Regions from separate parts of the Homo sapiens genome. Here all the other regions are linked to region 5. The links are contacts of gene promoters, found by promoter capture Hi-C in blood cells and fetal thymus (Javierre and others, 2016). All regions are on one chromosome and are shown on one strand. The core of a region is centred on a gene start or on the middle of the fragment in contact, and the rest is flanking DNA. Distances in the headings are between cores, read along the strand shown.

Region 1 (4,968 bases), core at 1,204-3,703, 250 kb before region 5:
GGGCTCAAGCGATCCTCCTGCCTCAGCCCCACAAGTGGCTGGGACTACAGGAGCAAGCCACCACACCTGGCTAATTATTTTTTAATTTTTTTGTAGAGCAGGGGTTTTGCCGTCTCCCTTTGTTGCCCAGGCTGGTCTCCAACTCTGAGGCTCAACCTATCCTCCCACCTCGGCCTCCCAAAGTGCTGAGATTATAGGCATGAGCCAGCATGCCTGGCCACATTTTCATATCTTAATTGAGGTGGTAGTTACACAAATTAATACATATGATTAAACTGCATAGAACTAAACACACACACACACACGAATATATGTAAAACTGATGAAAGCTGAACAATGTCCGTGGATTTTGCCAATATCAATTTCCTAGTTTTGATATTGTACTATAGTTATATAAGATGTTTTCATTGGGGTAAATGGGGTGAAGGGTACATGGGATCTCTTTGTACTGTTTATTTATTTTTATTTTTTATTTTGTAGAGAAGGGATCTTATATTTTGCCCAGGCTGGTCTCAAACTTCTGGGCTCAAGTGATCCTCCTGCCTCAGCCTCCCAAAGCACTGGGATTACAGGCCTGAGTCACCACGCTTGGCCTGTACTATTTTTGCAATTTCCAATGGATCTATAATTACTTCAAAATAAAAGTATAGGCCAGGCACGGTGGCTCACACCTGTAATCTCAGCACTTTGGGTGGCTGAAGAGGGAGGTTCACTTGAGGCCAGGGGTTCGAGACCACCCTGGGCAACGTCTCTACAAAAAAATAGGAAAATAATTAGCTGCCTGTGGTCCCAGCTCCTGGAGGACAGGAAGCATTGGGGAGGGGGGCTGAGGAGGGAGGATCGCTTGAGCCCAGGAGGGTGGAGGCTGCAGTGAGCTATGATTGTGCCACTGCACTCCAGCCTTGGCAACACAGTGAGACCCTGACTCCAAAAATTTTTTAAAAAAACATTTTAAGTATAAACAAAACTTTCACTAGCCCTACTTTTCTTTCCTTAAGAAAAGCTTCCCAAAAGAACTGTCCACATGCCCCATAACAAATCACAATCGCTATTACTGGTATCCCACTCTACTCCCCCTATCCACCAACACGCAGCAGCCAGAGTCAACTTTTAGAACATCAACATTTAATTATTAGCCTCTTCTTTTTTTCTTTTCTTTTCTTTTTTTTTTTTTTTTTTTTTTTGCGAGACAGAGTCTTGCTCTGTCGCCCAGGCTGGAGTGCAATGGTGCGATCTCAGCTTACTGCAATCTCCGCCTCCCAGGTTCAAGCGATTCTCCTAAGGCTCCGGAGTAGTTGGGATTACAGGCGCCCACCACCACGCCAGGCTAATTTTTTTGTATTTTTAGTAGAGACGGGGTTTCACCATGTTGGTTAGGCTGGTCTCCAACTTCTGACCTCAGGCGATCCGCCCGCCTCGGCCTCCTAAAGCGTAGCCTCTTCTTAAAACCCTTTTAAATAGCTTCCCGTGGCTCTTAGAATAAAAGTCAACGTGTGGTTAAAATAAACTAAAAACCTTGCTGTGATGTAGTCCTTCTGGGTCATTCCACACCATATGTCTTCCACTAAACTTCAGTCACACTCATATGGCCCACCTTCTAGTCGTCAAAATAGCCAAAACCTCTCCAAGCCTTACAGCCTTCACACAAACTGTTTCTTCTACAGAGGACAGAGAAAGACAATGGTTTCGAATGTGACGTCCAAACTATAAATCACAGGACACTGAATTCTGCGGGCTTTCATTAGCATAAGAGCTGCCTCCGACGGGGGCAACACTATGCGGGGTGTGCCAGGAACTGATTTAAGACTGTATTCAGATCTTCCAAGCAACGCCAAAGACTCCAGCTTATAAAGAGCATATTTGATTGCTTATACTGTGTGCTAGGTCCTTTTATCCTTCAAATGACCACCTACAGGAGAGACTAAGGTCCAATTCACAACTGAGCCTTTAAGGAGGTTAAGTAACTAGCCCAGAGTTCAACAGAAAGTGGACGGGTTGTTCAAAGCCAGAGCTACTCCCGACCTCTACTCTATACACTGCCTTTCCTCCGGCCCGTAAATACAACGAATGAACCTGCAGGTTGGTAGCTCCTGGGATCCGAGGTTGGAGTGCCACAGGACCCCAACCTGCTCTCACCCCGGGACAGGGAAATACGAACAGGGGCACAGGTCCACCACCAGGTGCCTCCGCGAGGGGCAGCAGCGCAGGCGGCGGGGAGGACCAGCGGCCACTCACCTGGTGCTGGCGCTGCGGCTACCTCCACACAGCGGTCTTGGCCTCCCAGACGCGAACCCGCACGCCCCAGGGGAGCCACCGGCGAAAAGCCCGCGGGCCCGTCCGCAGGCACCAACCAAATAACGCAGCGCTGGCACCATCCCCTACGCACGCTCCCCTCCCTCAGCGCTCAGAAGAAGCCACTTGACCCTCCACGGCCGAGGACCCGCGCTCTTTAGCCCCGCCCCTCACGCGGGGGCCAATGAAGTGGCGCGCCTTCGCCCCATGTGGGAGAGGCTGCGGTGGCCAATAGGCGCGCGCGTCGGAGGGCGAAGGGCCGGCCAGGGTGCCGCAGACGCGGGGACGCTGGCTCGCTCCCTCCCTCCCTCCCTCCGACGCTGTGAGTAGAGAAGCTAGGCCCCGAGCCGGGCGGGACTAGGGTGGTGGTTGTGTTCTGCCCTCGCCCGTCGCCAACGCTGGGCTGACTGAAAACCTGGCCCTTTGGGTCGCGCGTCTTCGACCTTCACCGCCATGCGGACATGGGGCCGTGGGAGAAACTCTGGGCGGGATTACGGTGAAAATTCTTGTTTGGGCGGGCCCTGCGGCTTCTTTCTTCCGGCTCGCCCTCGGCCCCGCCCCCGCCCCGCCCCCGCTCCAGCTCCAGCCGGGTCCTCGCTCGGCCCCGCACGCGGCCCGCGGTAGACGGAGGGCCTGGGCACCCACCGTCTCCATCCCGGCCCCAGCCCAGTCGAGCGTCCACTAGAAGGGCGCTCCCTGTCCGGCCCTAATCCTCGCTCCTCACGGAGGCTCTTTGTCACAGCGAAGACTGACAGCCCGCAGTCTTCTGGACTTCTTTTATGGGGCTCCTGGCGGTGCTATTCATTCAGTCATTGATTCGTCTTGTAAATATGGAGCGCCTGCTCTGTACTCGACCCGGCACTGGGTACCGGAAGAACCAGACAGCTCGGTTTTTGCCACCATTTATAAGTCTGTGTCCTTTTCTTGAGTACTGAACCGAGATACAGTTTTAAATGTGCTGTGCGGTCTCTGAGCAGCGACTCACCTGTGCAGGTCACTTCACCTGATTCCCTTTATGTAAAAATGAGGGCGATGGGCTGTGTAATCTCTAAAGGACCTTCTAACTCTTTAAAATTGTCACTGTGCCGGTGTTGCTAACACTCATTCTGTATGCTTGATGGCAGTTTTTAATTTTTAGGGTTAGGACAGCTGAACATAACAAATAGAATTATACAGATTTATTACCAGAAGGACTTCGTGTGCCTCTAAGAATCTTGGTTCCAGTCTTTGGTCAGGTAGCTCCAGGAAATCACTTCACCTCTTTGCCTCAGACCCTCCTCAGTGAACTAGGAATGATAGCAGTGTCTCCCTAGTCTTAGGGCCGTTGAGCGGATTACACGAGATAAGGTCAGCAGGTGTTTAGCACAGTGAAGCATTTGCTACGTGATGACATTTATTATGGTTAAAGGGTTTTACCACCAGAACAGTGGTACATAGTTTGCTTTATTTGTTAAAACAATGTAGAATATTGCCTGCTTGTTCCATCACAGATGAAAAAAAGAGATGGTTATTCAACTTTGTGAGGTAATTGTGGATTTCCATGCAATTGTAAGAATAGAGATTCTGTGTACCCTTTACCCAGTCTTCCCAGTGGTAGCATCTTGCAAAACTAGTACCATATCACAACCAGGTAATTGACATTCACACAATCCATTGATCTCATTCAGATTCCTCATTTTGTATTAGTGTTCTCTGTGTATATTTAGTTCTATATGGTTATCAGGTGTGTAGATTCTTGTATCCACCACCACAGTCAAGGTACAGCCCAGGTCCATCACCACAAGGGTCCCTCCAGTTGCCCTTTTATAACCACAACTTACCTTTGCAGCCCCACCCAATCTATTCTCTGTTTCTAAAATTTTGTTATATCAAGAATGTTACATAAATGTAATTATTGTAATTATACAGTATGTAACTTTTATTGACTCTTTTTCATTCAGCATAATCCCTTGAGATATATCCAAACTGTTACATGTATCAGTAGTTCCTTCCTTTTTATTACTGAGTGGTATTCCATAATGTAGATGTACTACAGTATTGATATGGTTTGGCTGTGTCCCCACCCAAATCTCATCTTGAATTGTAACTCACCATTCCCATGTGTTGTGGGAGGAACCAGGTGGGAGGTGATTGAATTATGGAGGCAGGTCCTTCCTGTGCTGTTCTCCAGATAGTGAATGAGCCTCACAAGATGTGATGGTTTTAAAAACGGGAGGTTTCCCTGCACAAGTTCTTTCTTTGCATGCTGCCATCCATGTAAGATGTGACTTGCTCCTCCTTGCCTTCCACCATGATTGTGAGGCCTCCCCAGCCATGTGGAACTGTAAGTCCATTAAACCTCTTTTTCTTCTCGGTCTCGGGTATGTCTTTATCAGCAGTGTGAAAATGGACTAATACAAGTACATTCAACTGTTCACTCATTGAAGGACATTTGAGTTGTTTCTAGTTTTTAGCTATTGTGAATCAAGCAGCTGTGAACATGAGTGTACAGCCTTTTGTGTGAACCTGTTTTTGTTTCTCTAGGATAAGTGCCCAAGAGTACAATTGCTGGGTCATATGGTAAGTGCATGTTTATTTTTTATTTTTATTTTTGAGACAGGGTTATGCTCTGTTGCCCAGGCTGGAGTGCAGTGGTGCAATCTCAACTCACTGCGGCCTCTGCCTCCTGGTCTCAAG
Region 2 (4,999 bases), core at 2,193-4,692, 230 kb before region 5:
TAGAAGCTAAATTACAGATTCATTGATGGAGTCAATTATGCAAAGTGGTCAGTGGTTGTTGAAGCATGCATTGCTTCAACAGGATTTGCGTGCATTTCCCATGATCCTGCATTCTTGTGTTCTTGATAGCATACAGACTTACTCAGAATCAACAGTTGCTGCTTAATTTGTCTATTTTGTAAGCTTAGGCTACTATTTTATTAAAACTGGACATAGATACTTGGCTGAATACAAATAGTTTTGCAGATTGCAATATAATAAAGGAAACAGTAAAAACTAGTGGGCTATGCTTAGGTTTTTCTTGAAACCTAACATTGCTTTAGGCTGGGTGCCGTGGCTCGTGCCTGTAATCCCAGTGCTTTGGGAGGCTGAGGTGGGAGGATCACTTGAGACCAGGAGTTTGAGACCAATTTGGGCAACACAGTGAGACCCCATCTCTAAAAAAATTTTAAAAATTAGGCAGGCATGGTGGTGCATACCTGTAATCTCAGATACTTGGGAGGTTGAGGTGGTAGGATTGCTTGAGCTCAGGAGTTTGAGGCTGCAGTAAGCTATGATCACGGCCACTGCACACCAGCCTGGTAGCCTGGGTGAAAGGGGGAGACCCTGTCTCTTAAAAAAAAGGGCTGGCCTGTAATCCCAGCACTTTTGAAGGCCAAGGCAGGCAGATCATTTGAGCCCAGGAGTTCAGGACGAGCCTGGGCAACATGGCAAAACCCTGTCTCTACCAAAAAATTAAAAAATAAAAAATAGCTGGGTGTAGTGGCACATGCCTGTAGTCCCAACTACTCAGGAGTCTGAGGTAGGAGGATCAGTTGAGCCCGGGAAGTCGAGGCTGCAGTGAGCCATGTTGGCACCACTGCACTCCAGCCTGGGCAACAGATTAAGACCCTGTCTCAAAAAAAAAAAAAAAAGTGAAAAATAGATAAAACAGGTCTTCATTGTTACCTGTGAGAAATGGCCCTGATTCTATTACTCTTATATGCCAGTTTGTTTATAGATTTCTGTGTGTTTGATTTGAACTTTTTTTTTTTTTTTTTTTTTTTTGAGACAGACTCTCACTCTGTTGCCCAGGTTGGAGTGCAGTGGTGTGATCTCAGTTCACTGCAACCTCTGCCTCCCGGGTTCAAGCAGTTCTCTGTCGCAGCGTCCCAGGTAGCTGGGATTACAGGCGCCCACCACCACGCCCAGCTAATTTTTGTACTTTTAGTAGAGACAGGGTTTCACCATCTTGGCCAGACTGGTCTTGAACTCCTAACCTCAGGATCCACCCGCCTCGGCCTCCCAAAGTGCTGGGAGCCACCGCGCCCAGCCTGGTTTGAACATTATTAAGCTGTTGAATATAAACTTGAAAATAATTTTCTATGATACAGCTTTCAGGTAGAAAAATGAATTTTCGTTGTGTTTAACAATGTTGTGTTTAACAGCTTATACAAATAACACAGTATAAATGGTAATTGCCACTGTCATTTTAAAAATCAGAAAATAGTAAATAAAAGGATGTGGAAGAGTCTCATGTGATACAGTGGAGATTTCATACCGAATAAAAGCATTATAAATATGGTTAAATTGAACATAAGCATAAATTTAACGGAACTCATTAGAAAAAAATAAGCCTTTTTTCTCAGGTTTGTTTCATTACTGTATGGTGAGACAACTGATTCACCACGATTTAGTCTAGAGCTACTTTTCTATTCTGAATAGTTTTTGGTAAAACTATTGGCTGAATTATTAGGCTGTTATAGTAATCTGCCTCCGTCAAGTGTATTTTCTTGGGTTAAGGAAAAAAAAATTTTTTTTTAACTATTCACGGAAGCTGGATGTTCTTCCTTGTCATTTGAATCAAGGCCGTCTAACAGGAATTGAATAATTCAGGGACTAGCATTTAACCCATATCAGGTCTAGGCAAGAAAAGACATACATTAGGAAGCCTTAGGATATCATTAAACTGCCTAGGGTAGTCAAAATTATTGAGTAGACACCAGACCTCAGTGGATTACTTAAGTAAATGGGGTCAGATGTCATCATGAAGAAAATTAACAGGAAGAAAATGAGAGTACAGAAGAAATGTTTTGAAAATAGAGTGAAATACAACTTTGAAGACCATGGCTGAGAAGTGCTAGGAATAGTGGCAGCACATCAACCAGAAATGGTGTTGAGCTGTAAGAAACAGACGTCAGGCTTCATATTGCCCTTGTGTCCAGGGGACAAGGATGAAAAAGCTTTTTGATTAAGAGCAGTAGACCAAATCAAAGCTAATTATGTCATTTTGGCCAGGCGCAGTGGCTCATGCCTGTAATGCCAGCACTTTGGAAGGCCAAGGCGCTCAGATCACGTGAGCCCAGGAGTTCAAGACCAGCCTGGGGAACATGGCAAAACCCTGCCTCTACCAAAAAATACAAAAAAATTAGCCAGTATAGTGGCACATGCCTGCAGTCCCAGCTACTTGGGAGGCTGAGGTGGCAGGTTTTATATATATATATAAAAAACACATATATATATATGTGTGTGTGTGTCATCATTTTAAGTCTCACTGTGCAAAGCTATGAGTCCTCAATACTTTGGACTACTTAGTGTAATATATTAGTTGTTAGAATAGCATATATATATATATATATATATATATACATACACATACATACACATACAAACATAGTGCAAAAAGATGTTTCAGGGAAAACATCAGTTTACAACATAATGTCTTTCATGACTCAAGTAAAAGCTCACAAGTAATTTCTTCTGAAACCCAGATCACTGAATTACAGGTTTGCCTATAGATGTACCAGGTCAAAGGCTGTGCCAGAGAGAATGAAATACTAATTATTTTCAGGCTGATAGGTTCAGTTCCTGCAAAGCCTGTAGGTCTTGCTCTACCCTTTGACTGCCTTAATCAGCTGCCGAGCTTCATGCCATTGTTTACAAGGGGAATTGGGTGAATAAATGTAGACAGATTACAGTAAATCCACGTTGCCTGCAAAAGTGACTAAGGTGTATCCTTTACTGATAAAGTAAGGATGAAATGTGGAAACATATAATTAAATTATAAATTACCAAGCTTTTGTGATAATTCATATGCTTTTAAATATTTTGAACCTAAGTGTTACCCTCAAAATGTTTTAAAATATAAAAATCAAGAAATAGAGCAAGCAGGAAATGGGATTTTAAACATTTTGATTTCAAGAAATAGAACTATCTTAAATATGATGCTGAAACAATCTGAGAGGCAGGAGATAGGACTCAGGCAACAGAGATCCGAGGAAATATATATGGGCATTTTGTGGTTCATTTTTCTTGTGTGGCATGTGGTACAACTGAAGCATAAATCTTTTTGATATCATCTAGTTTTGCCAGAGGTATGGGACAGTTCATATTCTGTCCATAAGTTCGGCTACTTACATAAACTGAAATACAAGTGCAACTCCAAACAGGTTTTTTCTTTTCTGGACACCATCATCAAGCATGGAAGACTGGATCTGGAATTTCCCTTCATATCTTGCCAGTTGGCCTCCCAGTTTCTTGCTTATGTTTTCTCCTGGTGTGTTTTCAACATTGTAATTGTTTTCAATCAACTGTATAAGTTTTATTTTCTTCAAAGCATCTATTGATTCCTTTTTTAAAATCATGTCTCCTAGCTCCTTTAAATGTTTGGAAAACGGTAGTTAAGTTTCTTGGTATCACAGTAGTACTTCTTATTATCCAAAGCTGGAAGGATGCTGCTGCCAGTTAGCTGGGGTAGGTACTGCAACTAAAAATGCAAAACACAGAATTAGGTTCAAAACTGTGCCATGCATTTTTTTCATTATTTAGAATATATCACAAAAGAGGTAATTAAGCTTTTTAGTATAGAAGTACTTTTTTTGCACACAATCCAGGACTTGAGAGAGGATTAAATGTTTCAATTTCGTCTTGGCTTTTCCTTTTAAATGTTTATATTAAAAAGGAAAAACATTCACATTAAAGAAGATTTAGAGAATATGAAAAGGGGAAAATCTACATGTTAACATTATTGGGAAGAAAACATAGATTTACAGGAGTTGAGAGCTTGCTGAGATCTTAGGGATCATTTAAGCCAATGCCTTGTCTTATAGCGGAGAAAACTGATAAACAGAGCACCTAGGCAATTTGCCTACTCACTCTCTTCCCTTAGTTAAAAAGGCAAATCAAGCATGGCACAGTGTACACTTGTAGTTCCAGCTACAAGGGAGGCTGAGTGGGAGCATCCCTTGAGCCCAGGAGAGCAGCCTGGGCAACATAGCAAGATCCCCATCTCTAAAGAAAAAAGACAAACTGCTTCCTTCAAGCTTCCTGAAAATGTTTGAATTTATTGTCAATGTCAAATGAAAGAACACACCTGTATTTTTTGTATTGCACTATATGTCCTTCGGTATCCCTAAAAAGGGAACTGTTTAGTACTTTTACTTTCTAGAAAAAAATTTTTCAGCCATTGTCCTCAGAAAAGTGCTTTTTAGTACTTTTAAATCAGTTGATTCTTTCAGGATTTAAAAGCAGTACACCAGGCCAGGTGCGGTGGCTCATGCCTGTAATCCCAGCACTTTGGGAGGCCAAGGCGGATGGATCACCTGAGGTCAGGAGTCGAGACCAGCCTGCCAACATGGCGAAACCCTGTCTCTACTAAAAATATAGAAATTAGTTAGGCATACTGGCACATGCCTGTAATCCCAGCTACTGGGGAGGCTGAGGCAGGAGACTCACTTGAACCTGGGAGGCAGAGGTTGCAGTGAGCCAAGATCATACCACTGCACTCTAGCCTGAGCGACAGAGTGAGACTCAGTCTCAAAAAAAATCAATACACCAAATAGTGGAGTTTCCCTATTTTTTCAAATAGAAATATTTCCATCAAAACCTTTTGCTCTCGAATACAAACTAATACTGAGATAAGGAATAATTCTGGCGTGGGGGTGGAGGAGTCTGTTTCTGGCCTGTTGTGCTACCTGGGTCACATATGATGGAGAATAAAACATTAATTTTGTAACTGTGA
Region 3 (5,498 bases), core at 1,813-4,312, 160 kb after region 5:
ATTTAGTAAGAGTTTTAGAAAAATAAATAAAACACTGTGGTTCTACTTCTCCCCTTCTACTCTCCCTTCACAAATCTAAGCTTAAGTGCAGGCTTCTAAAAAGCAGAAGAGAGTACAATAGGATGAGAGAGGTGGGTTTTACTATCCACATTTTCCTTTTCTTAGTGTAACGTATTATCTCAAAGGCAAACTTGATTCCCTTTTCTTGAAACGAAGATCCCATCTTCTGAGACGATCTTAAATAATTGTTCTTAAATCAAAAAGTTTGAAAATCAGTGCTTTTAATAAGCAACTAAATGCCTATAAAATATATAACTTAATATTTTGAAGAATGCTATTGTAAAGTTTGAAACAAGATCTAAACATTTTTAAGTTTACATTTAATGTCTTTAAAAGGTCTTTTAAAAGCTATAAGTTCTATTATAAATTGCCAACTAAATTATAAATTGCCACTCACCTTCTCAAAAATTGTTGCACAAATGCATACATTTAAGGTATCTGTATGGTATTTCTCATATTGATCTTTTTCCCAATCTCATAAGTGGGATAAAATGAGAAATTAAGCACCTAGATGTTGGTTAAATTCATTTGAGCAGCATTTTGATTTTGAATAGAGATTCTAAATGTAGTCTAAACTTTCCAGAAAGTCATATTTACATTCATTGTACATTTTATATACACATAAATACAAATTTATAGGAAATAAACAAATTAACCTACACCTCTCATACTGTAAAAGACAAAAATTAAAAATACAACAACCGTGATCACATGCTAAGGCCAGCTATCTGGGAAATATTATTGTTCAGTTCCAACAGCAATAACTTTGAGTAACTTGACACATATCACATAAATACACTACAGGTACTTAGTTTATTTTTGTCCTTAGCCTAGGCCAATCCACAGTTTTAAGTGAAACAATTTTCTGTGAAAGCTAATGCCATACAAGTAGTCAAACACTTACTAGAAATGTCTGCACCACAGAAGAAAGATCTAAAGAAGGCATAATAGCAGATGTCAAATATTTTGAAGTATAATTATAGGGAAGGATTAAAATTAACTCTTTATCCAGGGGGAACTCAGGGCTTTCTGACAAGAGCTGTGCAAAAATTCAAAGGTTTGCTTCATCAGTGTGAACTCCCAGTCCCACAAAAAACAGTGCCTTGTCAAGGCTCTTGTAGTGAGGCCTCCTGGGTTGACCGGTGAGACTCATAAGCCCCCAAGAAACCCTGAAGTTCCCTGATGGAAATTATTTTGTTGAGATTGAGTTTCTGACATGATGACTTCTTGGGCAGTTTGCTTTCTCTTGTGTTCCTGCCCATAAAGCAGTGCTTGATTTTGCTGTTCACCTTTTGTAAATAGATGGGCTTGGCCCTCCAGGAATATATCAAAGCGAACTTTTCGGATTATTGTCTCATGAAAACAAGCAGGTTGTTGTGATGAACTTGGAAAGTGCCCTGCACCTAGTAAGTCTTCCACCAACTGCTGGCGGAAGTGGCTAGCAGAGATTATAATTGGAAGAAAAAAAAGGTTACCGAATCTAAAATGTTGACTGTTCTATAAAGTTTTGATCTTGAGCATGAGTGGAAAGTCCTATTTGGCACTCCTTGACCTCAGGTGGCATGCCAATGATTATCACAGTAAGAAATTCTTAGAATCAGATTTGAGGTATAGAAGGAATAAGAAACACAGAAAATTTTGACCTATATTAAATAAACTCTTCTATAAGTCAGGTTTTTAACCCTAAAATCAAGGCCTTTTTTCCCCCAGAATATTAAATTTACTAAAAACGTAGAAATAAAAATTCTAGTATGGCTGTAAATATATAAGACAAATAAATGAGGTCACATGGTTTATACATTTCAAATTCTTAGAGAGGCCCTACAGTAGTTCAGGAAGACAGTTTACAGTATTGTTCCCTGAGTTCTTGAGGCAACCTCAAGTAAATTTATGAACTCTAAGATTTGAGAGACAGAAAACCTACATGGTCTGCTTATCCCTCTTTTCTAAGAGTAGCTATTTACTCCAAAGTGGTTTGTTCAGTGCTTTCCCTATAGTTCAACTGCTTTAATTATGTGGCTTTATCCGTTTCTTAGAAGACCAGCTCCCCAAATGAAACTTTTAAGAGAAAGAAGAAAAGGCTGTTTAAAGCAAGTAAGCTTTTAACATTAGTTAAGAGTGCAATTGAGTAAATCAGTTCTAAATCTATAATACAAGAAGAGTGGTAATACTGTCACAGGTGTTAGAAGGTTAGAATTCTACAGATTTGGGTTTGTCTGATGTCAGCGGTTAATAACCACTTAATAAGCCCTGCCTCCTAACCAATTATACTCTACTAATTGTCTACCAATTCAAAGAACCAAAACTATTATAATGACTTTCCAGTATTTAAATATGTAAGAACACCTAAATTTGGTTTTAAAATAAAGTTTATAACAACCATTCTCATCAGATCTCAAACTTCAAATATCTAGATTTTACACATAGATTTGTAATAATTAAAAAAAAAACCAAAACCACAAAAACTCATTCAAAACTGGTATTTTTTAGGTTCTTGAATTTTCATATGTCCACATTCTTGGTGGCTATTAAAATTTTAAAATAAATTCAAATCTTGGGAATAATTTAAGTAGTGAAATATGTGAGTATTTATTTTCAAACTCCCATAAGGGTCTATTTAGAAAAACTAATTATGATAAATGGAAACTCCAGTTGTGTTGCTGGCAGTTTTAGGTTAGGCTTAATTTTAAGTTGAGAACCTACTGAAATGTTCATCTATTTCAGTAAAGTGCACAAATATGAGTGTACCCTTTGGTTTGGCTATGACCTCAAAGGAGGTGTAGAAGTCAATGGCGCTGGTGTCAGATTCCTAACTATATTACTGAGGCTGGCAATCTTCTCCTCCAGGAGGTAATTTTTCTTCTCTGCTGTTTTCTGTCGCTGTTCAGTCACTTCCAGAGCTTTCAACAACTGGGCATTTTCAACATACAAGTCCTTCACCATTGCGTCTGCCTTAGTGTTCTTGCAGAGCTAGAAACAGAACCAGAAACATCTTGACTCCATTTCTGTAACTCTTCTTAAACCTTCAGTTTAAGGTCTGACATAAGGACAGTTGTTTTATAAAGGCAAATCACTTCGTCTAATTATATTCTTTTATTTTACAAAATAGCTTTAACATCAGACTTGGCATCAGGGACACCATTGGAACAAATCTACTTTTTCTAAGCTATTTCTTTGCATGAGATGTTTATGTCAGTTACTAATAGAACAGATTGATATTAGATGGCACCAAAAGTTTTTTTTCTACCTAAATAGGCATTATTTCTGTATTTATTCTTTAAAAATATCAAATACTTTTATAACTTAAATTCCTGAGGTGTCAGGTGTGGACTGTTTAACTCTGCTTGTAACAACAGATACTTGAACTTACCATTCGTAACTACAACCCACTGATTATTTTAAAATTTAGCTCATGTATTATAACAGAGATAAGATTTGGGCAGTTACTTCTCCTGAATTGTCTTTGTTTTTGTTTTGTTTTGCATGGGGCCTTGTCTAGTCTAATCTTTATAGTTAGAATATATGGTCTAGGTTGGGGTGGGAAAACTTGTTAGCAGCCTTGGGATACTTTCATTGTTGTTCTGGTTAATATTTTCCAGTCCCCCTTCCCATGTTACAAGTGTTCATTTTACACCCAATTTCAAGTAGGGCATCTAAAAGTATAAAGGTTTATGAGAATAAAGAGTAACTAAAGAGTAGCTTAACAACCTATTAGCATTTCAAAGGGCAGGGATAAGGATGACAGCACTCTCAAGCTCAGAACCTAGATGACTGGCAGACATCACATAACATTTCAGAACATATTTTCTGTTGAACTTCCTGAATACAACTTTTTTTCCTCCCTCCCTCTCTTCCTTTCCTTAAAAAAACACTTTGATGGTTCTTCATTGCCGACAGAATAAAAATCAAGCTTCTTTCTTGGCTCAGCACTGGAGGCCTACTGTCCTGTTCCCCCTTCCTCTCTAGTCTCTCCTCCTGCTTCTCCCAGGACAGTGTGAACTGGCAATGCTGAAGTGTTTATACGTGTCCACACCCCACATGTGGTCATAACTCCATGATGTTCCCACAGCCTAGGATACCCTTCCCCACACTTTCTTAACTAGTTGAAATCTTAACTCTCAAGATGCAGCTTCAGAGGTCTTCAGGAAGCTTTCTTTAAACTCCTGGGTTGGATCAAATATGTCTTTCTCTTGTGTTCTCCTCTACTGAAAACAGGACGGATCCCACTTATTTCTGAACCTACCATTTGGCCAAACGCTTGGCACCTTGTAAGTGCATTCTATATGGGCAGGGGCTTTGTTCACTGTTGTATCCCTGTGCCCACGGCAGGACCTGGCCCACAGTAACTATGTGTTGAATGCTTGAATATGTAAAGAACTGAATGGATAAATGCTCACTGAATGGGACTTTTTCTTCCCTGTGTATTAAGAAACAGGACAACCAAAAGTTGCTGTCTACAGCTGAATTCAGACCCTCTCTTGGGGTTGTTATTCTTAGCTTTTAAGTATCTAAAGAACTAGGTTGGGCATTTTCTGCCCCCCACCCCACATGTTCATCTCAGTTTCCAGAGAGGCTATAACACTCTCCCAGAGGGTAGTACTTTCTGCTTGTCTCTTCAGTGGATGCGCAACTAATTTCTAAACACCAAGGCCACATCTGCCACCAGCAGGTGAAAAGGAGCAGGCTGTTTAAGTGGTCCTGGAATCTGGGGTCTAGATTCTAACTCAAAGTACATCTTTTTGGAGTCTAGCTGTAGCAATAAGATACTTGTTGAGGTTTTCATAAGCTGTTGGGAACAGGAAAGCTAAAGTTCCATTTATTATCCCCCTATTTTTTTAACCAATATCATTTTTCAATTTAAATAGGAATATTTCCTGTCTTGGGCAGAGAAAAATCTGTTGATTCACAGGGACCTAAAGCATGTGAATGGACATGCTTTAGGTCTATGTGAATCAATAGATTTTTTTTGATCTTTAAAATCTTAGGTCCATGTAAATCATGTTAGCAAAGATTTACACTTTTAAATTGTGGACAAACATGCCTTAAACAGAGCTTTGGAAAAAATACAGAGTTCGTATTTTTTGGGGTGATATGAGGGATAGCAAATCCTAAGTTCTTACAGACATTTATAATAGAATTTGCCTTTATTAGACAACATAAGTTAACGAGTTAATGGCAATAAAGGGATGTAAAACTGGAGTTAAAGCTGGAATGTGAGGTGGGTGAACAGAGATGACCGGGTAGGCTCACTTGTTCTTTGAGCTGATTCACTTTCTCTTGAAGAAGCCTTTTCACTAGTTTCAGTTTCTGTTCAACTTCTATCATTCGTTCCTCCATGACAGTTACCAGTTGTTCCTGGTTTCCCTGAAGGGAAGAAAAGTATATTATTCGAAAATCATGTCACACTGAAAACACTGGTTTATTTTCCCCACAAGATG
Region 4 (5,513 bases), core at 354-2,853, 190 kb after region 5:
CCAGATCATTTTCTACGCATATACAGAACCCATACACACATACAGATTCTTTTCTTCTCTTTAGCAAAATTTGGAAATTTTATGTTTGGACAGCTTGCTTTTTCTACTTACTTACTTAAAGACTCTTTCCAGGTGGGCACGGTGGCTCACGCCTGTAATCCCAGCACTTTGGGACGCCGAGACAGGCGGATCACCTGAGGTCAGGAGTTCGAGACCAGCCTGAACAATATGATGAAACCCCATCTCTACTAAAAATACAAAAATTAGCCGGGTGTGGTGGCATGTGCCTGTAATCCCAGCTATTTGGGAGGCTGAGACAGGAGAATCGCTTGAACCCAGGGGGCAGAAGTTGCAGTGAGCTGAGATTGCGCCATTGCACTCCAGCCTGGGCAACAAGAGCGAAACTCCGTCTCAAAAGGAAAAAAGACTCTTTCCAAGTCAGTGTGTTCAGCAACCACCACATACTACTTTTTACTGGCTATAGGATATTCCATGTAGTAAGATATTCCATAATGCATTTATCTGTTCCCACGTTGATAGACATAAAGTTTTTAAAATCATTATTTCTTTTAAATGGATCTTTTAGAAAATCCATTTATACATGGTAGTATTTTGTATTTAGAATTATTTTTTAGAAGTAGGATTGCTGGGTTAGAAGATCTGTATATAGATATATATTCATTATTGTTTCAACAGATATCTCTAATATGTCTTCCTCACAGTGCTACCACCTTATAATCCTAACAACAATGCATGGGCACAGTCATTTCCTCACATCCTTTTAAATACTAGATATCAATCTTTACTTCTTGCTAATTCAATAGGTTAAAAAAAAGACGCTTATTGAATTTGCACTTCTCTAATCACTAATAAGGCTAACCATCTTTTGTATTCTTTTTTTTTTCTGTGACTTGACCATTCATATAGATTGCCTATATTTCAACTGGATTTTCCCATTTATTTGTAAGAGTCCAAAATACATTTTGGATGTTAACACCTTGTCTATTTCAAGTGCTGAAAATACTCTTTCCCAATATGTCCTTGTCTTTTGACTGCTTCAGACAGATTCTTAAATGGCCTTCCCTTTTTATAACTGCATGTTGTAAGATTATACAAATTGAGCACTGAATGGCACCAGCTATCTGAATAAAATGTAATTCTGTGAAATGATATGCTGATTAGCTGGCATTCTGTATATGTGAAATTCTGCCCTTAACTTTCTGCTTTCAATCATGGTGAGGAAAAAGGAAGGGCTAACATTAACTGAAACTGCACAAGGGCTACAGCTAATATTTCGTAGGTATGGTTTTAGAGGTATCACCTCCTCAATTCTGCTGATGATAAAGCTTTATCAAGCACTTAGGGCCTAGAATAATATATACATTATTTAACATAAAACAGGAAGCTAGTTTAGAGTCAGTATGAGGTAAGTTTCCATTTTCAAATTCAGAATTTACAACCTTACCATCATTAGCTATATGCTATTCATTACCGTGTGCTGTAAATTTATAAATTTCAAAAAATGGGAAAATTTTGGAATCAAAAAACATTGAGAAATATTAAGTATTTCCTTACCTGTTTCTTTAAATTTTCAACCATCTTCTGAACTGCAGCATTTTCTTGTTTTACAGTTTCCGTTTTTTGCCTAAAAGGAATGATGAAAATAAAATTTAATGGTTAGGCTTTAAAAGCTGAAGTAAAAGAATTTTAGTCTTTGCAAAAATGTCTTAGGAAAATGTAAGTATACGTCTTACCACATTTCTTCCTGAGATCCATTTAATGTCCCTAATTTCAGGTTAGAAATGCTATCTTCTTCATTTAAAGTAGTAATTTCATTTCTCAAAATAGAATTTTCCTGTTGAAGCTTTTCAGATTCATATCTGAAGCACAGAGATTGAAAAAAATTGTTACAAGGCAGTCATCTGGCATCTTTGGAAAATATTTTCTAGTAACTTCCAAAAGGATGAGTATTCAATGCCAGTTAAAAAGAAAAGTCTAAATTAGTAGTCTCTTAGTATTTGGAAATCGAGTTATGACATATTGACACATTTCTTTTGGGAAGTAAGAATTTCACTAAAAGATGTTAGAGAAGTGTAGCTAAAAAACCCTTAAGCCTGGAGAAATGAATCAAGACTCAATGCTCATTCTGGTTGTTGATTTTTCTCAATGGCAAGCATACTGCTTTGAGCAAATGTCTTCATTTATCTCAGTCTCAAGTCCTACCTGTTCTGAATACACATAAGCCATGTTACAAAGCTATATTAGCTTAGTTTTAGGCCCCTGGGTACCTAGGGAAAGAAAATTCTCTATTGAAATCAAAGGGCCACAATGAAATATGTACACTGTTTACTTTGTGATTTTATTCATCTCATTATATTCTGATTTTTAGGACTAAAAATGGTCTGAAGAAGAGGAAAAACTACATTCAGAATTAAATTATTTCAGAGACATTTCAGACGTCCTGTAATAGTTTACAAGTTTTTTTTTTTTTTGAAAAACCAAATTTGCTAGAAGACTATGCAATTATATTTTACAATGTCAAGTGGGCAGTGGTTCAAATTAATTCTACTTGTATCTCTGCTTTTCAAGCATATTTATTAGAATCTGGAGGCTCCTCAAATTATATGTTCTAAGATAAATTTCCACTGTTTGTTTTGTCTCTTTTTTTTTTTTTTTTTTTTTTTTTTTTTTAAAAGAGACAGGGTCTCACTCTGTCACCCAGTCTGGAGTACAATGGCATGATCATGGCTCACTGCAGCTTTGACCTCTCAAGCTCAAGCAACCCTCCCACCTCGGCCTCCCAAGTAGCTGGGACCACAGGTGTGCACCACCACGCCCAGCAAACATTTTTTTATTTTTCTGTAGAGGCAGTCTTGCTATGTTCCCTAGGCTTGCCTGGAAACTCCTGGCCTCAAGAAATCCTCTTGCCTTGGCCTCCCAAACAGTTGAGATTGCAGGCATTTAAGCCATGGTGCCTGACCATTTGCACTGTTTATGGGTTATCAGCATGTGCTTCAAGTGATATGAGTACAAAACTATAAAGACAGAACATTTTTTCTATATTAGCATAAGAAGTGAGTTCTTATCTACTAAGTTAATAATACACAAAAAATCATTCATTTGTATATAACATGTTTCCTCAAAATGAGGAAAGTAACACTTAGCAAAATAAAAAAAAAAAATCCCCTATCCATCTAAATGAAATAAGTGCTAGAAAAAAGTTAAAGAGGTACATTGAGGATGCACATGGTTAAACAGCAAACACTCGCCATTGTGAACTTTCACACCCCATATGAACACTTGTTTGCTACAGCGGAAGGGAATGCCTCCTAAACAAGGTTATTTTATTTGTTAATACGGCACAGAAGCAGAAGGAAGTCTAGAGAGTACTGCTCTCTTCGTGAAGACTACTAGGTTAGTTTCTCTAGGCACGGCAAGCAGTGGAAGTTAGATCTGGTGAGGTGCTCTGTGGGATTCGTGACGTCTAGAAGGTACATACATTACCTCAGAAGTTCAACTTTTTGCTGCATCTCACTGCACGTGATCTGCAAGTCATGCATCATTGCCTTCAGCTCTTCCTCCTTTTCTCCGTGAGAAAGTACATCTTTTTGCTTAACTAAAATAGTGACTCTCTCCTTCAACTTCCTAGTCAGCTCCTGTAACTTTGTTTTCTCCAGTTCTAACTCTGCTATGGTGGCCTGATGCTGAAAATGTTTGTCTTGAAAGCCTAGGAGAGTAGTGTTTTCCTCCAGTATAACTTGATTCTGTACTCTTGGCCTTTCTTGATGTGTCTGAATTGTTCCATGTAACCAGGCAATTTCATGTGCTTTTACTTTTTCCAAGAGCTGTGTGTTCCCCTCAAGGTACTGGTTTTCTTGCTTACATTCCTCTATGACATGATGTACACTCCTAACCCTGGGCACACACTCTTCCAGTGTCTGATTGAGCTGGAGTATATTTCCATCAGGTTCGATTTCCAGGTTCTCTAAACTGGCTTCCCATAAGCAGCAGTCACACCGCTGGACCACGCTTTCCTGAAGCTTCTCAATCTTGCCTTGAAGTCTCAAAACCAGAACATTCAGCCCCTCATTTTCTATTTTGACCTCATCGTAACTCTTTTCCAGGCTGAGGAATGTTTCAGTGACTTCCTCCATTTTCTTCAGCTCATCCTGCAACCTGAAAACCTCTGCAGTGAGTTCTTTGTTATTTTCTAGTGCCTCATCGTAGCGTGTCTCCATCATTCTCAGCTCTTCCTGAAGGCAGTCATTTTCTCGGCTCACATCTTCATACAACAGCTTATATTTGGGAGAAGCCTCAGGGATTCTCTCAAGCATCTTCAGTTTCTTTTTTAGCACAGAAACATCAAAAAGTAGGTCCTGTTTCTTTTCAGAAGCTCGATCACAGTCCGCACATAACATCATTAGCTGTTCCTGAAGCTGACTAATCTGATTCTTCAGCTCCCAGGATTCAGTCCTGGTCTCTTCACTGTTTTCAAGCTCAGAAAAACCCTCTACTGAAGCTTCAGACTCCTCTATTTTGACTTCCTGTCTCTGAACAGAGCTCGTCCCTGTACTTCCCAGGTCCCGGACCTCATCATCTTCCAGGTCACTTAGGACATGCCGCCTGGTCACACCTTCTACTTGCTTCGTTCGGTTTTGCTGTAAAAACTGCTCTGTTTGTTCCGCAGTATTTCCAAAAAACTCAGTAGCTGGCTCATCCAAACAAGAAGACATTACTAACCCTGGCTCTAACTTTTGTAGCCTCTGTTGCAATCTAGAAATTTCAGTAGCCATTTTCACATTTTCCTTCACTGCCTGTTCATGAGCTCTCTGCAGGCTTAAGAGGACGTCCCCATTTTCTTCCAACAGCTGCTCCCCTTGCTGAAGCAGGGACAGGGCTCCATCTCCTTCCACCTCCTCCTCTCCTATCACCTGGCAACCACTCTGAAGCATTGAGAGAGGAGATGTTGCCTGCTGCATTTCCTTTATTTTACTCTGAAGTCTGGAGATTTCTGTGCTCATCTCGGCTCTTTCTCGATCTGCTGTCTCACAGGTCGCTTTGTGAATGTTCTCCATGGCTAGAAGCTTGGACATCATTTCCTGCCTTTCCTGGTCATGTTCCATTTCTAGTCTTTCCAGCCGCTGGCTGGCCAGCTGCTCCGAAGCCCCTGCCTGGCACAGGACCTCCTCACGCTCCCTCAGTTCCCTTTTGTGACTGCTCTTCAGCTCAAGTATCTGGTCAGACAGCAGGCTTTGCTGGGTTTCAGATACATTTCTTAGGTCTTCCAGGTCTTGGAGTAGCTGCTGTCTCTCGACGACCATGCTGTTCAAATGTTCTTTGTATGTTTTCTCCAGCATCTCTCTCTCCTGGGTCAGGACCAGAGAAGTTGTTTTCTCTCTCTTAAGAGTCTCTTTCAGCAGCTCCTGGGCTTCCGCACACTCCTGGGTGAGCTCGTCCTTCTCAAATTCCCACTGGGATTTCTCCTCACGCTGCTGTTCCTGGAGGTCCTTCAG
Region 5 (5,596 bases), core at 2,614-5,113:
TGCAGCGGCCTGAATCCTTGAACTCCTGGGCTCAAGGGATCCTCCCACCTCAGCCTCTTGAGTAGCTGGGACTGCAGGTGCACATCACTGCACCTGGCTAGTTTTTCTATTTTTTTTATAGAGATGGGGTCTTTGTATGTTGTACAGGCTGGTCTCGAACTCCTGGCCTCAAGTGATCCTCCCACCTCAGCTTCCCAAAGTGCTGGGATTACAGGCGTGAGCCACTGCACCCAGCCTAATCCAGTGGCTTTAGTATACCCAAGAGTTGTGCAAAGTTGATTTCATGATGAATTCTAAAACATTTTCATTGCCCCCAAAAGAAACCTCATACTCATTAGCAGTCACTCTCCAATTTCTCCCCAACCTCCCACTCCTTTCTTCCATCCCTAAGCAACAATTAATCTACTTTCTGCCTCTTTAGATTTGCCTATTCTATAAATTTCATATAAATGGAATCATATAATATGTGGTCTTTGTGGCTGGCTACTTTCATTTACTATAATGTTTTCAAGGTCCATCCATGTTGTACCATATATTGGTACTCAATAACTTTTTATGATCAAATAATGTTCTATTATATGGATATACTACATTTTGTTTATCCATTCACTAGTTATTTGGCACTGGGATTGTTTCCACCTTTTGGCTATTATGAATAATGCTGTTATGCATATTCCTGTACAAGTTTTTTTGTGGACATATATTGTAATTTCTTTAGGGTGTATATCTAGGAGTGCTAATGTATATGGCAATTCTATGTTTAACTTTTTGAGGAACTGCTAGACTTTTTCCCAAAGTATCTGCACCATTTTATATTTCCATCAGCAGTTTATGAGGGTGCCAATTTCTCCACATCTCACCAACACTTGTTATTATCTTTTTGATTATAGTCATCATAGTAAGCATTTTAAAACTTATTCTGGAGAATGTGAAACATTACTGTTCTAAGACTCAGAGTTATATAAAAGCATTACACTTAGAGAAATATCAGTCCCCTTAATCCCTACTACCCTCTTCCCATTCTTCCATTATTTCTACCCTATTCCCACCCATCTCCCGTAGGTGACCAATCTCATTGGTTTCTGGTTTAGTCTTGCTGTATTTATTTTTCACAGATGAATGGATACTTTTTTCATATCCTTTCCTTTTTCCAGGAATGGTATACTATTTTCACTTTTTCCTCCTCATTTAACATTGTATTCTGGAAATCACTCTGTATTAGCTTATAAAGATCTTCTGTATTCTTTTTCACACCTACATAACATTCTATTGCGTATATGTATTATAATGTATTCAACCACTCATCTATATGTGGGCATTCAGGTTGTTTCCAGCATTTTACAATAACAAAAAGTAATGTAATACATAACCATGTATGTTTATATTTTCATACTATTGAGGTATTTCTTCAGAGTAGATTAAACTTATGATTAAAAAGATGCATTCTAGCAATGTCCACTGAAAGGGTCTAGAAACAGTGATCTTCACCCAGCAATGAGCACAACTAGCACCCACGTCTTGGTTTCTAAACACCTTTTCTCGTTAAAAGGAGCCACAGCATCTTGGAGAAATGGCTATTCTAGTTCTAAGATAGGGAAAATACAAAGGAACCTGAAACATTTTCTTTTACCAGAATACAGGGAACTGCTCAAAGACAAAAAGGGACAATGTTAAAAGGACACACGAGCTGACCCTCAGCCAAATTAGGGGAATTTAGGCATTAAAAAGAATGGTGATGCATAGCACAATTTTTTTAAAAGCTTCCATTAATTTATAGAGGGACTCAACATAGAAAAGTGGGAGAGGGAATGCCAGCTACTTAATTTAAAAGACATGACATCAAGAGGCTGAGGTGGGCAGATCGCTTGAGCTCATGAGTTTGAGACCAGCCTGGGCAACATGGAGAAACCCCGTCTCTACATACAAAAACAGCCAGGCGTGCTGGCGACCGCCAGTAATCCCAGCTACTTGAGAGGCTGAGGCATGAGAATCGCTTGAACCTGGGAGGTGGAGGTTGTAGTGAGCTGAGATCACGCCACTGCACTCCGGCCTGGGCAACAGAGGGAGACTGTGTCTGGAAAACAAACAAACAACAGATAATGATTTTAAAGCCTCCATTTAAAAAATCACTAATATGAAATTGATTCAGGCAAGGATCAATGGATGCTAAAATCAGTGGATGAAAAGTTATTGGCCAATAGTACAAAAAGTCACATACAGAGAGCTATTTATTTAAGCATTTTTTTGTGATTCACACAGTCTCAAAGTATTCACCTGCAGATTACTTACTAATTATAAACACAACAGGTTTTTAAAAAATTAATTTCTTTTTCAATTGGGCATAGGTGTTGAATTATATAAATTTTTTCTTTTTTGTGTGTAATCTATTGTACTCTTAAAAATGGGATTCATATGAAAGGGATTTTCAGGCTGGAATGTAAGCTGAGAATGATAGTAAAGGAATATAAGAAGAAAAGCAGACCACACTTCTCTTTTGTTCTATGAACTTGGTTTATAGGTATAAGGATGAGATAATGTCTGTCTTCCTATGTTGTTTCATTAATGTCATTTCAACTCTGTTGAGCACAGACTTCTTTAAAACCATGTTGTAAACTTGGTTACAGTGTTCACGACTCTGCAGTCACTAGAACCAGTAACTGAAATATAATGCATAAGATTTGGCAGTGGTGGGGGAGTTTGTTTTCAGATATGTTGATGTTCAAATGTCAGTAGGAAAACAACGTGAGGATAACCTTAGGCAGTTATAAACACACCTCTGGTATAATGTCCTCTCTTCTAGAGGGCAGAAGACTACAAGTATAGATTTGGGAATCATCAGCATGGAGGTCCTGTCTGAAGCCATCATAGTAAATTACATTGAGAGAGTGTAGCGTGAGGAGTTGCTTACCATGAGGAATTAGCAGAGATCATGGATCTGGTAATTAAGAGGCTGGCAGTGATCTCCTAAGAACCGATCAGTACAGAGTGTGAGTAACAACCAAATGGCAGAAGGAAACTGTAAGGGACGGCATGATGGTATCTTGAGGTTGAGGTAGTATAAAGGGACAGTGTTTCCAGGTTACTGAAAACAACTAAGTTTGTAGCAGAGAGAAAGCAGTGAAAAGGGAAAGATTGAAAGTATTTTTATTTTTTTTCTTTTCCTTTCAAAATTGTCTGCAACCTTTATGGCTGCCAGGGCCCACCCATACCCAGACTATGTAGTATGATTTCAGCTCAAATAATTGCTATTGGACTATAGGTCTGGACCTTATCTTTGCAAATCTAGTGGGAAATTTTACCCAGTGGATATTGAGTTACAGATCGTAATGAATCTACAGCTTTCATTTATCTTGATCTTCTTGATATAAATTTTGCTATTCTAATTTTAAGACAAACTACTCAGTATACATATACAAAAATGCATGATACCCTCTTTACTAACATGACCTTGCTTTTAAAATGGAAAAAAAAATGGGTGCCTCGTAGATAAATGCACATTATTTTAGCTACTTTGGCTATATAAATGTTGCCAGCTTGTTTGTACTAATGTATAACCGTGCTTGAAACAGGTATTTGAACATCCAGAATCATGCAGTATATCGGTTTGTGTATTTCTGATAACGCTGTTAAATTCTTTGAGAGTGTGTTCGAGGGGGGTGCTGTTTATTTGTTTGTGTTTTCCGTTGAAAATGTTGCGGTACGTGGTCTATCACTGTCTTCACGGTCTGGGGGTGGACTGAGGTAGGGAGGGTGTGACGCTGGTATCTGTGTGAACTCGGGCTTGTGATGCTGAGCTTGGTTCATCTGCTTTCTCCTCCCTTTTCCTCCCCACTCCTTCCCACCAGCGCCACAGCAACATCCTCAGAGTCTGAGCGAACTGCGCCCAGCGCGGGCACGGAGCCTCCCACCGCCAGCAACCTGCGGCCCCGGAGAAGGCAGCGAGCGCAGTGACAGCGCCTCACCGCCACCAGCTCCTGGACCACCATGGCCAAGAACCGCAGGGACAGAAACAGTTGGGGTGAGTAGCAAATGAGAACTTCTGCAGCCTGCACGGGGTCTTCTGGCCCTCCACTTTCTGCTTCTGTGGAGACAGGGAGGGCCAAGGGCTGCTAGGTGCCTGCGTCCACGGCTGGGAGACGGGCCGTAGCCGAGCCGCTCCCTGTTTGGGCGGAGGAACCATGGCCGAGCGGTACCCGCGTCACCGAATCGCGCTGTCGGGGTGAGGGCTGCAGCTTCGCGCAGGCCGGGCCTCCAGCTCCTTCTTCCCCACCCCCCTCCCGCCTCCTCCCAGCATTTGGACAGCACCCACCAGGCGCCTCCGGGGACTTGTGGGTTCCGCCTTAGCGATCGGTTGGGAGGAAGGCTATGGGGGTGGGCAGGGGGCTGTTGTTACTCGGCCCCAGAGGGGCGAGGGGTCGGGGATCTAGAGCAGGCCAAGCCCCAACCCCCCTCCCCGGGAGCCGCCAACTCGCTGGCTCTGCAGGGCGCGGGCTCCCGGCGGCGGGCGGCGGGCGGCGCGCTGGAACAATGAGGCGGAGCGCGCCGGGTCCCGGACGGACGGTAGCAGACCGAGCAACTGGGAGAAGGGCCACCCTCTTGGGAATTCCTGAGCACTGCAGTACTCCTCTTAATTTGGGGGTTGGGTGGGGGAATTGGGGAAGAAGGAGAGCAAAGTTGTGGTTTCCAGCCTTCTGCCCCACCCCGACGTGGTACCCCATTCAGACCAGCCCCAAGGGTGGCTTTGTTCTTTGATTTTACCTTTTGGAGACATTGGGCTCATGATTCAGCACCAGGCCGAGGGGAGGGGAAAGGAGAGGCGAGACCCAGTATGTTCACACCGCGAGTGGGTGGGCGGTGCTCACGCAGGCGGAGAAGAACGGGCGCAGCGATGCGGAAGAAATCGCGGCCCCGCCCGCCTTGCTGCTCCAGACCTAGTTCTGGACGGTTAGTGTGGGCAGGCTGGGCGTCTTTTTGTCGTAGGTTCCCGATTTCTTGCAGTCACAGTGCTAAACTCACCAGCATCTTAGGAACGAAAGCCCTCTAAGGCATTTATTTTATTATCTGAACCAGAGAATGTCTCAGGCTACTGTGGCTTGGTGGGTAAATAAATATTTTGTTCATCAGCTTGTTATTTAGAAATTGTTATTTGGAAATAACAGTTGTTATTATTTGAAAAGTTCAGAGCTGCTTGATTCTGTTCCACATCTCAGTGAGAGCTCTTCTATAACTGTTTATTTGAGCGAGAGGCACAAATGTAAATTTTAATTGGTTATTTCAGTTTACTTTAATCAAAAGACCGTGTATCTCCTTGCCTCTGATTGTTCTAATGGTCACAGGATACGGTAGACAAGGTTTACATTTGGGAGATTATCCAAGGTTTGTGGTAGGCATGGAGAGTTGGAGCGGGGAGGTCTGTCATGACTTAGCTGAGTTTAAGAGAAAGTGGTTCCATTTTCTGAGATCATGAAACTTCAGTTTTAACAGACCTACCTGACTATTGCAATAAGTTTTATTTCCTTCTTCTGAAATTTAAGTAAGCATTTGCAGTGTATCCCCTTTCCACCCGTTCTCTTGGCCTCTAGAATAGGAATTTATT

What was found. Contacts are between HindIII fragments. The CHiCAGO score rates a contact against its expected background, and 5 or more counts as called.
Region 1: a contact is called between the fragment with the promoter of L2HGDH here and the fragment with the promoter of ATL1 in region 5, in 16 of 17 cell types (naive B cells, fetal thymus, M1 macrophages and 13 more). The highest score is 7.7, in naive B cells.
Region 2: a fragment that was not itself captured here is called in contact with the fragment with the promoter of ATL1 in region 5 in 2 of 17 cell types (M0 macrophages and total B cells); the score reaches 5.4 in M0 macrophages.
Region 3: a fragment that was not itself captured here is called in contact with the fragment with the promoter of ATL1 in region 5 in 1 of 17 cell types (megakaryocytes); the score reaches 5.2 in megakaryocytes.
Region 4: a contact is called between a fragment that was not itself captured here and the fragment with the promoter of ATL1 in region 5, in 1 of 17 cell types (megakaryocytes). The highest score is 7.9, in megakaryocytes.

Annotation. Positions count from the first base shown.
Region 1 is chr14:50,309,776-50,314,743 of GRCh38, forward strand. L2HGDH (L-2-hydroxyglutarate dehydrogenase) reads right to left here and starts at 2,454. Exons shown (of 10, transcript NM_024884.3): 1 at 2,236-2,454. The coding sequence starts at 2,375. DMAC2L (distal membrane arm assembly component 2 like) reads left to right here and starts at 2,549. Exons shown (of 6, transcript NM_001382507.1): 1 at 2,549-2,614; 2 at 4,816-4,851. RefSeq lists silencers at 2,514-2,643, 2,704-2,933. The HindIII fragment of the contact is 12,145 bases long and covers 1,002-4,968 here.
Region 2 is chr14:50,326,437-50,331,435 of GRCh38, forward strand. CDKL1 (cyclin dependent kinase like 1) reads right to left here. Exons shown (of 10, transcript NM_004196.7): 10 at 1-3,745. The coding sequence ends at 3,638. It overlaps DMAC2L (distal membrane arm assembly component 2 like), which reads left to right. Exons shown (of 6, transcript NM_001382507.1): 6 at 1-1,521. Among named protein-coding and RNA genes, the nearest start is that of DMAC2L, 17 kb to the left of the region's middle. The HindIII fragment of the contact is 778 bases long and covers 3,054-3,831 here.
Region 3 is chr14:50,720,643-50,726,140 of GRCh38, forward strand. It overlaps NIN (ninein), which reads right to left. Exons shown (of 31, transcript NM_020921.4): 30 at 5,311-5,424; 31 at 1-3,030. The coding sequence ends at 2,821. Among named protein-coding and RNA genes, the nearest start is that of SAV1, 55 kb to the left of the region's middle. The HindIII fragment of the contact is 1,811 bases long and covers 2,158-3,968 here.
Region 4 is chr14:50,752,988-50,758,500 of GRCh38, forward strand. NIN (ninein) reads right to left here. Exons shown (of 31, transcript NM_020921.4): 18 at 3,505-5,513; 19 at 1,755-1,880; 20 at 1,576-1,645. Among named protein-coding and RNA genes, the nearest start is that of NIN, 75 kb to the right of the region's middle. The HindIII fragment of the contact is 518 bases long and covers 1,345-1,862 here.
Region 5 is chr14:50,556,282-50,561,877 of GRCh38, forward strand. It overlaps ATL1 (atlastin GTPase 1), which reads left to right and starts at 3,864. Exons shown (of 14, transcript NM_015915.5): 1 at 3,864-4,018. The coding sequence starts at 3,985. It also overlaps a transcript of MAP4K5 not described here. RefSeq lists an enhancer at 3,958-4,457 and a silencer at 4,199-4,558. The HindIII fragment of the contact is 3,968 bases long and covers 1,759-5,596 here.